2 separate regions of the Homo sapiens genome follow, and region 1 is linked to region 2. The links are contacts of gene promoters, found by promoter capture Hi-C in human tissues and cell types (Jung and others, 2019). All regions are on one chromosome and are shown on one strand. The core of a region is centred on a gene start or on the middle of the fragment in contact, and the rest is flanking DNA. Distances in the headings are between cores, read along the strand shown.

Region 1 (3,371 bases), core at 174-2,673, 500 kb after region 2:
CAATACATTTCATGTCTTGTCATTACTGGTTTTCCTTTATGAGGCACTTACGAATGTGTGCCTCATTTCAATGTAATGAGATGACAAGTAATTCAATTATTTTTTATCAAAAAATGTATGCACACTAAGACTTTAACTATTCAAGACTTAGCTGCCTATCCCTTTCCACTGGACATGGATATTCTTTTAAGAAATCTCCTGGCCAGGCACAGTGGTTCGTGACTGTAATCCCAACACTTCTGGAGTCTGAGGCAGGAGGGTCACTTGAGCCCAGGAGTTCAAGACCAGTCTGGCAGGCTGGGCAACATAGCAGACATCATCTCTAAAAAAAAATTTTTTTTTTTTTTTTTGAGATGGAGTCTTGCTCTGTCGCCTGGGCTGGAGTGCAGGGGCGCCACCTTGGCTCACTGCAAGATCCACCTCCTGGGTTCACACCATTCTCCTGCCTCAGCCTCCCAAGTAGCTGGGACTACGGGCACCTGCCACTATGCCCAACTTTTTTTTTTCTTTTTTGTATTTTTAGTAGAGACGGGGTTTCACCGTGTTAGCCAGAATGGTCTCAATCTCCTGACCTCGTGATCTGCCCACCTCGGCCCCCCAAAGTGCTGGGATTACAGGCGTGAGCCACTGCGCTGGACCAAATGTTTTTTGTTTGTTTGTTTTTTTAACTAGACAAGCATGGCGGCACATGCCTGTAGCCATTTAAAATGTTTTTTAAAAAGGAAACCTCCTGCCCGGCATGGTGGCTCACTCCTGTAATCCCAGCACTTTAAACAGCGGAGGCAGGTCAGATCACTTGAGGTCAGGAGTTCGAGACCAGCCTGGTCAACATGATGAAACCCCAACTTTACTAAAAATACAAAAATTAGCCGGGCGTGGTGGCATGCGCCTGTAATCCCAGCTATTCGTGAGGCTGATGCAGAATCGCTTGAACCCAGGAGGTGGAGGTTGCAGTCAGCCAATATCGTGCTACTGCACTCCAGCCTAGGCAACAGAGCGAGACTCCATCTCAAAAAAAAAAAAAAAAAAGGAAACCTCCTGATGGTGATTATTAAAGGTAAAATAAAATCTACCAATTGATAAACAAGCATCATGTGGCCTGTGGACTATCATTTAATATAGGTCCTAACCAGTCTCCATTGCCAGCCTACAAATTAAAGAATTAAAGGCCCTAATGATAGTCCATTTTAAAATTATGATGAATGGAAAATAGATTATTCTCTAAAAGAAATTTTGAGATAGAGAGGAAGAAACTTGCCTATTGTCACATGAGAAAATATTGTTAAGTCCAGCATTCTGCTAATGCCCATGTCTAGAAAATGTAATTCCTTTTCAATGATTCCTAGACAGGGATTCTGGGAATAATGTCATAACAGATTACACTGTATATTCACTGACTATTATATACTTCATTACCAATAGCACCCCTAGAATATAGACTGTAAATTAGAGGCCTTGTCTGTCTTATTCTCCACATGTTATCCTGCCTATAATATTGCCTAACCCATAGTAAGAACTCAGTTGCAGAAATCAATGTACACTTAGCTTACCACCAGATTTATTTCCAATGCTGAAACACTTATTCATTTATTTATTTATTTATTTTTAATTTTATTTATTTATTCATTTGAGACAGGGTCTCACTCCGTCACCCAGGCTGGAGTACAGTGGCACAGTCACAGCCCACTGCAGCCTCGACCTCCTGGGCTCAGGTAATCTTCCCACCTCAGCCTCCTGAGTAGCTGGGGCCACAGGCAGGCACCATCACGCCTGGCTAATTTTTGTATGTTTAGTAGAGACGGGTTTCACCAAGTTGCCCAGGCTGGTCTCAAACTCCTGGACTCACGTGATCTTCCCACCTCAGCCTCCCAAAGTGCGGGGATTACAGGCGTGAGCCACCGCACCCAGCAAAATACATATTTAAAAGAATTATGGGCCGGGTGCGGTGGCTCATGCCTGTAATCCCAGCACTTTGGGAGGCCGAGGCGGGCAGATCACCTGAGGTCGGGAGTTTGAGGCCAGCCTGACCAACATGGAGAAACCCTGTCTCTACTAAAAATACAAAATTAGCCGAGCGTGGTGGCACATCCCTGTAATCCCAGCTACTAGGGAGGCTGAGGCAGGAGAATCACTTGAACCTGGGAGGCGGAGGTTGCAGTGAGCCCAGATCATGCCATTGCACTCCAGCCTGAGCAACAAGAGCAAAACCCTGTCTCAGGAAAGAAAAAAAAAAAAGAATTACGTCAAGTTGGACACAGTGGTGCATGCCTGTAATCCCACCTGAGAAGGGAGGATCACTTGATCCCAGGAGTTCAAGACCAGTCTGGGCAACAAAGCAAGACCCTGTCTCAAAATTAAAAAAACAAACAAACAAAACAAACAATATCAGCCAGAGGTAAATTGTTAAATAAGCTTTTATAACACTTGAGCCCAGGAGGCAGAGGTTGCAGTGAGCCAAGATCATGCCACTGCCCTCCAGCCTGGGCAACAAAGCCAGACTGTGTCTCAAAAAATAAAAAAGAAAGAAAAAAGAAAGAAAGAGAGAAATACCTGAGACTGGGTAATTTATCTTAAAAAGGGGTTTAATTGGCTCATGGTTCTGCAGGCTTTACAGGAAGCATGGTGCTGGCATCTGTTCAGCTTCTAGGGAGGCCACAGAAAGCTTACAATCATGGCAGAAGGTGCAGGAGGGAGAGCAGGCACATCACATTGGGAAAGCAGGTGCAAGAGAGAGAGAGAGAGTGGAGGGGGAGATGCCACACTTTACAACAACCAGGTCTCCAGAGAACTCACTCTCTATCTCCAAGACAGCACCAAGCCATGAGGGATCCACTCCCATGACCCAAGCACTTCCTTCCCACCAGGCCCCACCTCCAGCACTGGAGATTACAATTCAACATGAGATTTGGGCACGGACAAATATCCAAACTATATCATACATGTTTGACTCTATTCGCAAGATTAAGATTTTCTTACTTTACTAAGTAAGAACTTTACCACCCCTCCATGCTTAATTGGGAACACTTTTTCAGTGTCTAACATAGGCACTAACAGGAATCTAAATTTACATACAAATGGAGTCATCCTATACTATTGCTCTGCAATTTTTTCATTGTGCTTAAAATGAGTTGTATTACTGGACATATTTTGGTTTCAAAACATATTGATCTTTTTTCCTTTTTATGCCCAGGCATCTCCTGAATAAGGAGAGTGACAGATCATAGCCATATCATGGCATTGTTGACTGAAATGTGAGAATTTCACTCTCAACTACCCTATCCTTCATTTCCTACCTCCCCCAACAAACAGGAAAAATGTAAACCTCTCCAGAGATATCAGTTTTCCTAGACTCTCCCATTCCTTCTCATTTG
Region 2 (3,108 bases), core at 353-2,852:
TTGCATTGCAGGCTGTTTTCTACCGGTCTGTCTGTGTAGACTGTAGCAGAATGGGGGGCAAAAGGCAATTGGAAAGGGCCTTATTAAAGTGTGTTATTTAGTTTTGTGCATACAGTAGATGTTTAATATTTTTTGATTGACAGTGAAATTATTTCTTTAGACAATTTGACTTAAAAACCACCCAAGTCAGTGTGCATAAAGACAAAAACCAAATGAAGCCTGCAGATTTTAGTTTGTCTTAATTCGTGGTAAAAATAGTCCTAGTTAAACCAATCGTCCTATGGATCAGGTCAAAATGATTCAACTAATGAATGCTTCCCTACTGGAGTGCTATGCCTAATATTTATACTAGGTTTACCATAGTCCTGTGCAAAGCAAATAATTTACCATGAACTGATTAGCTGTTTTTAAAAAAGACTACTTATTCTACTAGCATAGACACGCTAACAAGTTCAATGTATCCCACTTCAAAAATAAAGAATCCCTCATCACAAGAGGGTTAAATCAATCCTCAGGTTATGATATGGGATCAAACTCTGCCCGAAAACAGTTTAAAAACCATATAAACATATTATATCCTGAAGCCCATGTTTATTATTTTGTCGCTTTAGTTCTACTGATTTGCACCCATTTGCATTAAAGAATTATAAAAACAGGTGAGCTTAAGACATCCGAGTCCAAATCTCCCATTTTACAGACTCAGGCAAAGACCCGAAAGCAGGCCGGCCGTGGTGGCTAGTGCCAGCATTTTGGGAAGCTAAGGCGGTAGGATTGATTGAGCCCAGGAGTTCGAGACCAGCCAGGGCACCATAGTGAGATCCTTGTCTTTACAATAAGTTTAAAAAAAAAAAATAGCGCCTGGAGTCCCTGGAGTCCTAGCTACTAGGGAGGCTGAAGTAGGAGGATCGCCAAGACCTGAAAACAACTTCAAGGTTAGGCTGAGATGTGTGACAGATTTGAACTTAATCCTGTTCCCTTTAACACCCATGTCTTGTTTTAAGTCGCTAAGAAAGGAGATGGAGGGAGTCAAGTTGTGCATTCTCAATCGCCAATTACGGATTAATCGACAGAATCTTATCTGATTATTAGTACAAATAACATTTTATTTTGTGATCTACCTAAGAGGGTTTGCTTATTCACGCATTCTTTTTTCTAATTAACTTTTTCAGTTTTTCTTCGATTGGGATGACTTTTCCAGAAGGGCAGAAGCAGATAGCACAGAAAGTAGAATACATCCGTGGAAAAGTTGGAGAGACAAAGGCGGCGGGGATGGCTGCACTGATGCAGGGAAAAGTATTGGGAAAACGGAGAGGGCTCCTCGGGCCAACTCTGGGCAACGATGAGCATCCCCGGCCTCGGCAGGGGCGCCGGGCCGCCCGCCCTCCCTCCCTCCCTCCCTCGCGAGTCCCTTCTTCAGAGGACGCGGGGAGCCGGGTCTGCGCGCTCCGCCGCCTGTCACCTAGCGCCCGCGCCGGGCTGCGATTGGACGCGTCGCCGCCAGGCACCCGCCAGAAACACCAGTGCGCTGGGGAGAGGAGGGGGGCGTGCTTGCGAGTCGAGGGCTTGCTTTGGCTTTTTTACGGCTCCCCCCTCCCCTCAGCACTCCATGCCGGGTCTCTAGTTCCAGCGCGCCTCGGCTCGCTCGCGCGGCGGGAGAGTTGGCGCAAACCTCGCGGCAGCCGCAGCCTCCTCGCGCGCCTCTCCTTCCCCTACGCCCTCCGCTCCCGCCATGGGGCCAACGTGGGGCTCCTAAGAGTTGCCGGCTCTCAGCGGCGCAATCTCCAGCCAAAGTCACCGCGGGCGGACTATGGCTTAGGGCGCCAGAGGGGTTAGAGGTACGGGAAGAGGAAAAGACGGCTAACTGGGAAAAAAAGAGAAAACGAAAGAAAAGCCAAACGATGAGTTTCCACAAGGAGGACGGAGTGAACAGTCTGTGCCAGAAGGCTCTGCACATCGTCACCGAGCTGTGCTTCGCCGGCCAGGTGGAGTGGGAGAAGTGCTCGGGCATCTTCCCTCGGGACAGGGGCAGCCAGGGCGGAAGCAGCACAGGTAACCGGGAGGGCTCCGCTCGCGTCCTCGCGCTCCGCTGGGACCCCGCGCGCTAGGCTGCAAGCTCCGGGGTTCTGCGCCTCCCGCGCCGCTCCCGCGGCATATTTGGGGCGCCACGCTTTCCTACCTCGCTCCTTCCTTCGCTCAGCTCCTGACGACTTCGAGGGTGGGGCGTTTGGGTTTTGTTTCCTCCTGTCCACCTGCCGGGCTTCTCCCATTCTCTGGTCCGCTTCCCGCCTCCCGGCGCCGTCTCCCGCTCCCAGCCTCGCCGCGCCTCTCCGCGTTCTCCCACGCCTCCCATCTCCCTCCCGGAGTGGAGAAGTGAGTGCGGGCGGTGACGGCGCCGGGACGGCTCGCGGCTTGGCTGCTTGTGGGGGCGGCTCACCTGTGGGACTAGGGCTGCTCTCGCTCGTTCCACCGGCCGCTGGTCCCGGCCTTGTTGATGGGGGCCAGGCGGGACGGACAAGCCATGCTTGGACGCAGAACTCCCTTGCAGAGGTGGCTGCCTTGGCCTCCGAGGTAACCCGCGGCTGCAACCTGTCGGGCACCTGACAATTTCTAAAGCCCTTTTAATATATATGATTTTCTAGGGTTTCATGACAAAGTTGGTAAAACAAGGATTATTGATCCCATTTGTGAGGCGACACCTAAAGCTCAGAGCACATATCGAAGAAGTGGAAGAGAGGGGAGACGTTTAAAATCCCTAGCACACGCACGCTCTCAGACATCCAACTCACAGACGTCCTCCCTACCCTTCAGGAAACTAGGAAATGGGCTGGATGCAGGAGGATATCGACCGTCGGAAATCTGGAGATGGAAAAAAGTCTCAAGTGGATTTTCCTCAAGGCTTGGGGGTGGAAAGGATCGAATCCAAGCCACTGTTTGGGTCACGGTTGGGGAAAAGGTTGGTGTGTCCAGCCTGCTGTGCTCCTCGGGCGCACGCGAGGTGGATCCCCGAGTTGCGGGCTGCGTGGTTTCAAGAGCCGCTTGAGAGGGTCACTTGTTGCACTAGGAGTCAAAAAACACTGCTTTGGGGATTTTCGACTGGAAGGTTGCCAT

Evidence for each region. The method cuts DNA at HindIII sites, captures the fragments that hold promoters and counts their contacts. A contact is called where the count stands out against the background at its distance.
Region 1: a contact is called between a fragment that was not itself captured here and the fragment with the promoter of SYT10 in region 2, in 1 of the 25 tissues and cell types used here (H1 embryonic stem cells).

The regions. Positions count from the first base shown.
Region 1 is chr12:32,940,086-32,943,456 of GRCh38, reverse strand. No RefSeq gene overlaps it. Among named protein-coding and RNA genes, the nearest start is that of PKP2, 45 kb to the right of the region's middle. The HindIII fragment of the contact is 6,625 bases long and covers 1-3,371 here.
Region 2 is chr12:33,438,313-33,441,420 of GRCh38, reverse strand. SYT10 (synaptotagmin 10) reads left to right here and starts at 1,602. Exons shown (of 7, transcript NM_198992.4): 1 at 1,602-2,049. The coding sequence starts at 1,899. RefSeq lists an enhancer at 1,875-2,691. The HindIII fragment of the contact is 9,708 bases long and covers 1-3,108 here.